Linked DNA regions of Homo sapiens: region 2 is linked to region 1. The links are contacts of gene promoters, found by promoter capture Hi-C in blood cells and fetal thymus (Javierre and others, 2016). All regions are on one chromosome and are shown on one strand. Each heading gives the region's core, a stretch centred on a gene start or on the middle of the fragment in contact. The rest is flanking DNA. Distances are from core to core; before and after follow the strand shown. Region 1 holds the start of LHFPL6 (LHFPL tetraspan subfamily member 6). Region 2 holds the start of STOML3 (stomatin like 3).

Region 1 (3,475 bases), core at 393-2,892:
TGTGGTACCTAACTGGAAGTCAGACCAATCATTCTTATGCTGTCACTGAAACCAGTAACCGGTGATTTGTAAGAGAAGAGTTAAAACAACTTAAACTCAACAACAACACCAAAAACAAAAACACTTAAATTGGGGATTCTGAATATGGGATTCATGGATGGGCTTTAAGGGAATGGGAAACCACCTGATATTTCATTCAAATGATTGACATTTTGGCCCAGGTAATTTTGGGGACTGTCCTGTGCACTGTATTTAGCAGAATCTCGGGTCTTTACCAACTAGATGCCAGTAATACTCCCCATTCATGGGTTATGATAATCAAAATTATCTTCAGACCTTGCCAAATATCCCTTTCCTTCTTCAGAATCGCTGTGGTAAAGCTTTATATGTCCGCGCATTTTTTTTTCTGGAAGGCTTATCAGTTTCATCGTATTTTTTAAAAGACCTGTGACCTCAAAAGGCTTGGAATCAATCACTTAAGGTCTTTCAAAATAATAATAAAAGAACACATATCTCCAGCTGTCGTTGTGGGAAAAATGTACACCATCACGGCTAATTAAAATGGTGCAGTCTGAAAATCTGCTATGAAATATATACCTACCAATTTATTACTTTCAACTCCTCTAAAAAGACACCTCACAAAAACTATATCTGGGAAACTGTCTACTTCAAAAACTGCTGTTCCCAGATGGCATACTTCTTAAAATACTGTGTTCAGCAGAGACTCCCACAGTCATCTACTGAATCTAGCTCTAAACTTCTAAAGGGGTTAGTGCTAATGACAAGTGGAAAAAGTCCTCAAGTCCAGAGGGGAACTAAAAATCAGTTGTTTCTCAGAAAAGAAATCAAACGATGGAATAAATTGCAAAATTGATCAGGAGGCAGGATGGAGGAGAAGGGAGGGAGGAAGTGAAGGGAAAGGGAGGGAGGGAGGGAGAGAGAGACAGAGAAACAGCAAGAGAGAGAGAGAGAGACCTTTGAAAGAGTGTATCTCTTGGGAGAGGCTCGCTAGAGGTCCGCCCCTGCCTTCTCCCTGGCTCGTCTGGAAAGGCAGCTGCCCCCATGCCATACATGAGCCTTGGGCTGTCTGCTGTGCTTTAATTCCCACGTCCACAACCGCCTCATTCACCGCCTTCCAAAGTGACCACTTCTCAAAAGCCTCCTCAAATCTCAAAGGGGCCACTTTACCCACTCTTTAAGGCCCTCTTTCCCGTCTACGGCTTCTTTTAACGGCGGCAGGAAAACAGGAGCATAAACCCGAACAGTAAACCCAGAAAAGCCCCAACAGGCAAAGTGTGTCATCTTCCGTGGCTCCTCGGGGTCACCCAGGAAGACAAGCAACTTTCTCCCATACTTCTCGGTCTGTCTGCCTTCCCCACTCAGCTTTGAATGAGACGCAGGGAGAGGGGGCGCGAGGGGGCTCGGGGCTAGGGGAGGAGCCGCGAAAGCTGCCCCCGGGGGTGGGCCTGGACCCGCGCGGACAGCGGGGCACCCCCCCACTCCCTTCCCGGCGCTCCAGGAACGTCCCCGGTGCGTCCTGGGTCTGTCTGCGCGGAGTTCCCCGGGGCGCGAGGGGAGGGGACTGGAGAAAGAGGAGGGCCGGGCAGCGGAGGGGAGGAGGCGGTGCGTGCCTCGCCTGCCAAAGGGAGATCCGCTCCTCTGCGTGCGATCCCCGGCGCCCGCGCGCGCCCACAGCGCTCCGCCAGAGCTGCCGCCGCGGACTCGCCGGGAGTGGGGGTCTCCGCTGGTGCCAGCCCGCTTCTGGAGACCCTCCGCCTCCTGCCAACCCCTGCTCTTCCAGGTCGGGCCCCGGGGTTCTGCGGCTGTTAGGGACAGAGGCAAAGAAGGGCAGGACGGTCCGGTTTCCCGTGGATGTTCCCGCCCGAGAAAGACAGCAAGTTGTGTGTGCGCCCGGGACGCGGGAGGGAAGGTGGCCGCCGCCCGCCAGCCATGTAAGTAAATCACTCGGCTGCCCCGTGGGCGTGGGCTCCGCTGCTTTCTCCCGGGCTCCCTCTCTGCCCCGGAGCCGGAGTTGGGCTGCTCCCGGGCTCCGGACTTCCTGAGCTCGGCGGATCCGTCGGCTCTGCCTGCCAGCCGCGTCCGCTCTTGGCGTCTGCCTCCGGGGGGTGCTGCCTTCCCATCCTTATCCCCTCCCTTCGTCCAGAGCCGGCTGGAAAATGCCTCTTGCCCCCTTTTAGAATGGAGGGATCATTGTGTGTCTCCATGGGTGGAGTGGCTCGGTGAGGCAATGGCAGGGGGCTAAATATGGGCTTGTCTTGGCGAGGGCGCCTCACCGCAGTTGGAGATGGGGGCCCCCTGCCCGCAGGCCACCCCCTGCTGGTCTTCCCCAGCCTCGTGGCCCAGATAGATCAACTTCAGCCCTGACTGCAGTTGACAAGATTAGAAAAAAAAGTAGTAGCCGACCTCCCGTTTGAGTGACATCCAGAACTGAAAATGGGCGGTGGTTAGAGAAAAAAACGGGTAGGGGCGAGGTGAAGAAAGGGGGAAATTTGCTATGGACCCTGAAAGCTGGAGTTAGGGGTCCTGGGGGTGGAATTCTAGGGTGGATGGGCTCTGTGCTTCTGTATTCATTTCTTTATGGAAAGTGTGAGAAATGGTTAAGGAACTCTTTTTGAAAGGCTGGGGTGGAAGTAGATGCCCCTGGAACCATTTGGATGACTGGGGTTTGATGTAGCATACTGGGAAGTATGGATTGCTGTTCAAATTAGACAATCATTCAGTGGGAGAAATGATTGCAATAGAACTGTTGGAATCAATGAATCAAAACTGCAGACTCAAAATAAGTCATACACAGGCATTCTTTTACACTAGAAGATGTTAAGACTAAAGAAATTCTGAAATGCTGCTGAATGAGTACAAAGAGTGTCTGGTAATAGTTCTGTACTGTGGGTGCCTCCGCAGACCATAATGCTTGTTAAATTTATGGTACTCTGCAATTGTGAAAAATTATCCTAATTAGTTTGTTTGGCTCATGCAGAGAGTTAATGCACCCTTAAAGGGACATAGAAAAGTTGCAACAAACTATGAGCATGAACTTGCAAGCCAAAAAATGGAAATCATGGCATGGTTCATTTTATTTTAATTGTTTATTGCCCAGTGAAAGTGCTACATTACTTTTAATGTGAGTATATAATATATAGAATGAATTCATTGGCCTGTCAAATAAAAATCGGGCGTTTCTTTAAGTAAATAGCTGTCAGAGTTAATTTGGAAATATTTACGGAAGATAAAGACATGAAAAAGCTTTGAGCTGGTTTGACAAAAATCGAGTTATGAAGCTCATAGAGAGAATTAGTTCTTCCCACTTTTAAAGTGTTGAGGCAAGTCTCAATGTTTATTAATTGAAAATTGTAGACTAGCTGAAACAGTGTTATCACTTCTTTTAATGCCTTTAATTTTTAATGTTTCCTGTTGTTTTACCAGGGACCATCATCTTTAGTGCAGAGGATGGAAA
Region 2 (3,475 bases), core at 284-2,783, 610 kb after region 1:
AATAAATATAATGGTATACAAAAGAAAAACAAGATATATTTGGGATATTGATATGAGAGAAATGAACATCAGAAAATTAGAAAATTGGTGTTCTTAGTATTGGAATAACCACAAAATTGTCTGTGGTTCTATGTGGTCTGATGAAAGAAGGAATCCTAGTACAGGATCCTAAGGATCTGGATTTGAGAAAGAGCTTTGCCATTTGAGAGCTGTTTTCATTTGTGATTTATATATTCATTCATTCAGCAAGTATTGTTGAACATCAATCATGTGCCCACGTTGTTCTAATTGTTGCAGATGCAATGGAAATGTTAGACCAAGTCACTCTCCTCATGGAAATGTATAGTGCAAGGCAGGGGTCAGCAAACTTTTTTTGTGAAGGGACAAACAGTAAATATTTTAGGCCTTACAGCTTGTATGGTCTGTGTCACAACTACTCAAATCCACGGGTGCAGTGCAAAAGTGAGCACAGACAATACAAAAATGAAAGAGCTGGGCATGGTGGCTCATATCTACAATCCCAGCAGTTTGGGAGACCAAGGCTGAAGGATCATTTGAGCCCAGAGTTTGAGACCAGCCTGGGCAATATAGTGAGGCCCCATCTCTAAAAAAAAAAAAAATTAAAAATTAGCCAGGTATGGTGGTGTGCACCTGGAGTCCCAGCTGTTGAAGAGGCTGAGGTAGGAAGATTGCTTGAGCCTGGCAGGTCGAGATTGCAGTGAGCTGTGATTGTGCCACTGCACTCCAGCCTGGGCAACAGAGTGAAATCCTATCTCAAAAAAAAAAAAAAAAAAAAGAAAGCAACAAAAGGACATACTGTGTTCCAATAACACTTTATGTTTTAAAAACAAGTGGTAAATTAAATTTAGCTGGCAAGCTAAAGTTTGTCAATTCTTGGTCTAGAAGAAGAAACAGACACAAGCCAAAAAATTATGCATATGATAACACGTGCAAAGATCCGGTGGCGAGAAGACATATCAAGCTTTGGAGGCACTGATAGGAGACCAATGGAGCTGCTTCACGGAGAGACACATGAGTGAGGCTGGAAAGGGAGGAAGGGGCAGGCCAGCAGGGTCTTGTAGGACACTTAGGAGTTTGGTCTTTACAATATTGACAGTTGGCAATTTTTTGATTATTTTAAGCAGGATGAAGACATGATCAGATTTGAGTTTCAAAAGCTCACTCACTGCAGTGTTAGAATGAGTTGGGTTAAATTTTCTCATCTGAAACATAAGGATGGATACACTTGCCCTGTGTATTGAACAGGTCATTGTGTAATCAGTGATCACACAAGATTTATACAAGGTGCATAGAAGTGTTTTATGAAATATAAATGCTATAGAAAATTACACAGCAATATTTTACAGGAAGCAATACCACCAGATGGTCATATTCTTTCAAGTTTTTTCTGTGAACAAAGGCAGTCTGAACTCATAAAAGAAATCTTTTTGTTTATGTTATCAGGCTTCCCTCACCAGGGTAACTACCCCTTAGGGAGTTCACTAAAGAGAAGGAATGTCTTTCACTCTCTCATACTTTCTCCTCTCCCCTCTCCCAAGCACATCTGAGTTGCTGCCTGTTCTTCACACTTAGCTCCAAACCCATGAAAAATTGCCAAGTATAAAAGCTTCTCAAGAATGAGATGGATTCTAGGGTGTCTTCACCTGAGAAGCAAGATAAAGAGAATTTCGTGGGTAAGTTCCTTTTTCCTGTCTTAGGCTTGTTTTTTACATATATGGCAAAGCAGGAGTTGTAGCATTATAGACAGGTATAGAGTAAGTATGAGATATATTTGCAGAAATCGGCCTCAATTTCATTTATAGCCCAGGATTTTGAATTCATTGCTTATGCTGATTTCATTTGCTTCTTGAACGGCAGTCTATAACTTGCTTTATTTTTCCTTCAATTTTAGATAAAGTTGGTGTTTATCTTTGAATTTCTTCTTTCTGTATGAAATCCTTCTCAGGATTTTGAATTCATTGCTTATGCTGATTTCATTTGCTTCTTGAACAGCAGTCTATAACTTGCTTTATTTTTCATTCAATTTTAGATAGAATTGGTGTTTATCTTTGTATTTCTTCTTTTTGTATTAAATAACAAAGATATGTTGAAGAGGCTGACTTTTCTCCAACTTCAAACATTTTCTGATGATGCTGAGATTAAAAAGAAAAGTTGGTTTGAGCTGTATCCTGTTTGATAAATGGAGAGAAGTTGAGAAAAAAAACTTAGCTTATAAGTACCAACTACTATCATTAATACTAATGACTATTATGTGTTACAAAGCATTTTGCTTGCATTATCTCTTTCAATTTTACAATAATTCTGAGGTAGATCCTCTTAGAATCTCATTTTACAAATGAGAAAACTGAGCATTGGAAAGTTTAAAAAGTTGTTCAGAAAGTGATTATGATGATGGTGTGCGTGTGTGTGTGTGTGATGATGGTGTGAGTGTGCGTGTGTGTATGACCTAACCTGTGCTCTGTACCTTATGTTGCCAAAAAAGCCATAGTACATGTTAGAAATAGAGAACACGTTTGGCATTACTAATACATAAAAGAAAAAACTAGGCTGCATGCACTGGTGCATGCCCTGTAATCGCAGCACTTTGGAAGGCCAAGGCAGGCAGATCACTTGAGCTCAGGAGTTCGAGACCAGCCTGGGCAAAATGGCAAAAACTCATCTCTACAAAAAATACAAAATTTAGCCAGGTGTGGTGGCACATGCCTGTGGCTAAGTGGGAGGTTGAGGTGGGAGGATTGCTTGAGCCCAGGAGGTTTAGGCTTCAGTGAGCTGAGATTGCACCACTGTACTCCAGCCTGGGTGACAGAGTGAGACCCTGCCTAACAAAGAAAAAAAAATGGAATAAAGAAAGAAAAAAGAAAAAGTATACATTTAGAGACATTTACCTGAATTGGAAAAGAAACTTTTCTTTTGAAGTAGGCATGAAAAGCTTGAAGGCAGTAAATATCATCTGGAAATGCAAGCGGGAGATCTCAAGAGTCCCCTTATTTATCCTTCATGAGACATTTAGTTTCCATTTTAACAGGTGAAGACATCAACTGGGTAGATGGCATGACTGAAGCTGTATCATCAGTGAGATTCTTGAAAGTACTCATGAGTTTTCTTGGTTTCGATATTTGAATATGAAAAACTGGCACTATCACAGAATGAACAAAATGGGGCTGATATATTTGCAATGTCTGATTTCCTGTGCTTTTGTAGTTTTTTAGGAGAGATACAGTGTGGACCATTCTCTGAGATCTGTGGACTAAGTTTGCCCTTGCAACTCAGATATATATAAAAAATATATATAATACAATATAACATATATAACATATATCTTATATAATATAGTATATAATGTATGATATATATTATGTAATATAGTATATATAATATATTGTGTAATATAGTATATATAATATATTGTATAATATAGTATATATATTATGTATTCTATAGTATAGTATATAAT

The links. The method cuts DNA at HindIII sites, captures the fragments that hold promoters and counts their contacts. A CHiCAGO score of 5 or more calls a contact.
Region 2: a contact is called between the fragment with the promoter of STOML3 here and the fragment with the promoter of LHFPL6 in region 1, in 2 of 17 cell types (activated CD4 T cells and non-activated CD4 T cells). The highest score is 5.7, in activated CD4 T cells.

What each region holds. Positions count from the first base shown.
Region 1 is chr13:39,601,360-39,604,834 of GRCh38, reverse strand. It overlaps LHFPL6 (LHFPL tetraspan subfamily member 6), which reads left to right and starts at 1,642. Exons shown (of 4, transcript NM_005780.3): 1 at 1,642-1,952; 2 at 3,445-3,475. LOC112268119 (protein SPT2 homolog) reads right to left here. Exons shown (of 4, transcript XM_035861111.2): 1 at 3,442-3,475; 2 at 2,295-2,385; 3 at 1,193-2,191. RefSeq lists a silencer at 1,448-1,747. The HindIII fragment of the contact is 2,884 bases long and covers 383-3,266 here.
Region 2 is chr13:38,988,889-38,992,363 of GRCh38, reverse strand. It overlaps STOML3 (stomatin like 3), which reads left to right and starts at 1,533. Exons shown (of 7, transcript NM_145286.3): 1 at 1,533-1,694. The coding sequence starts at 1,643. The HindIII fragment of the contact is 645 bases long and covers 985-1,629 here.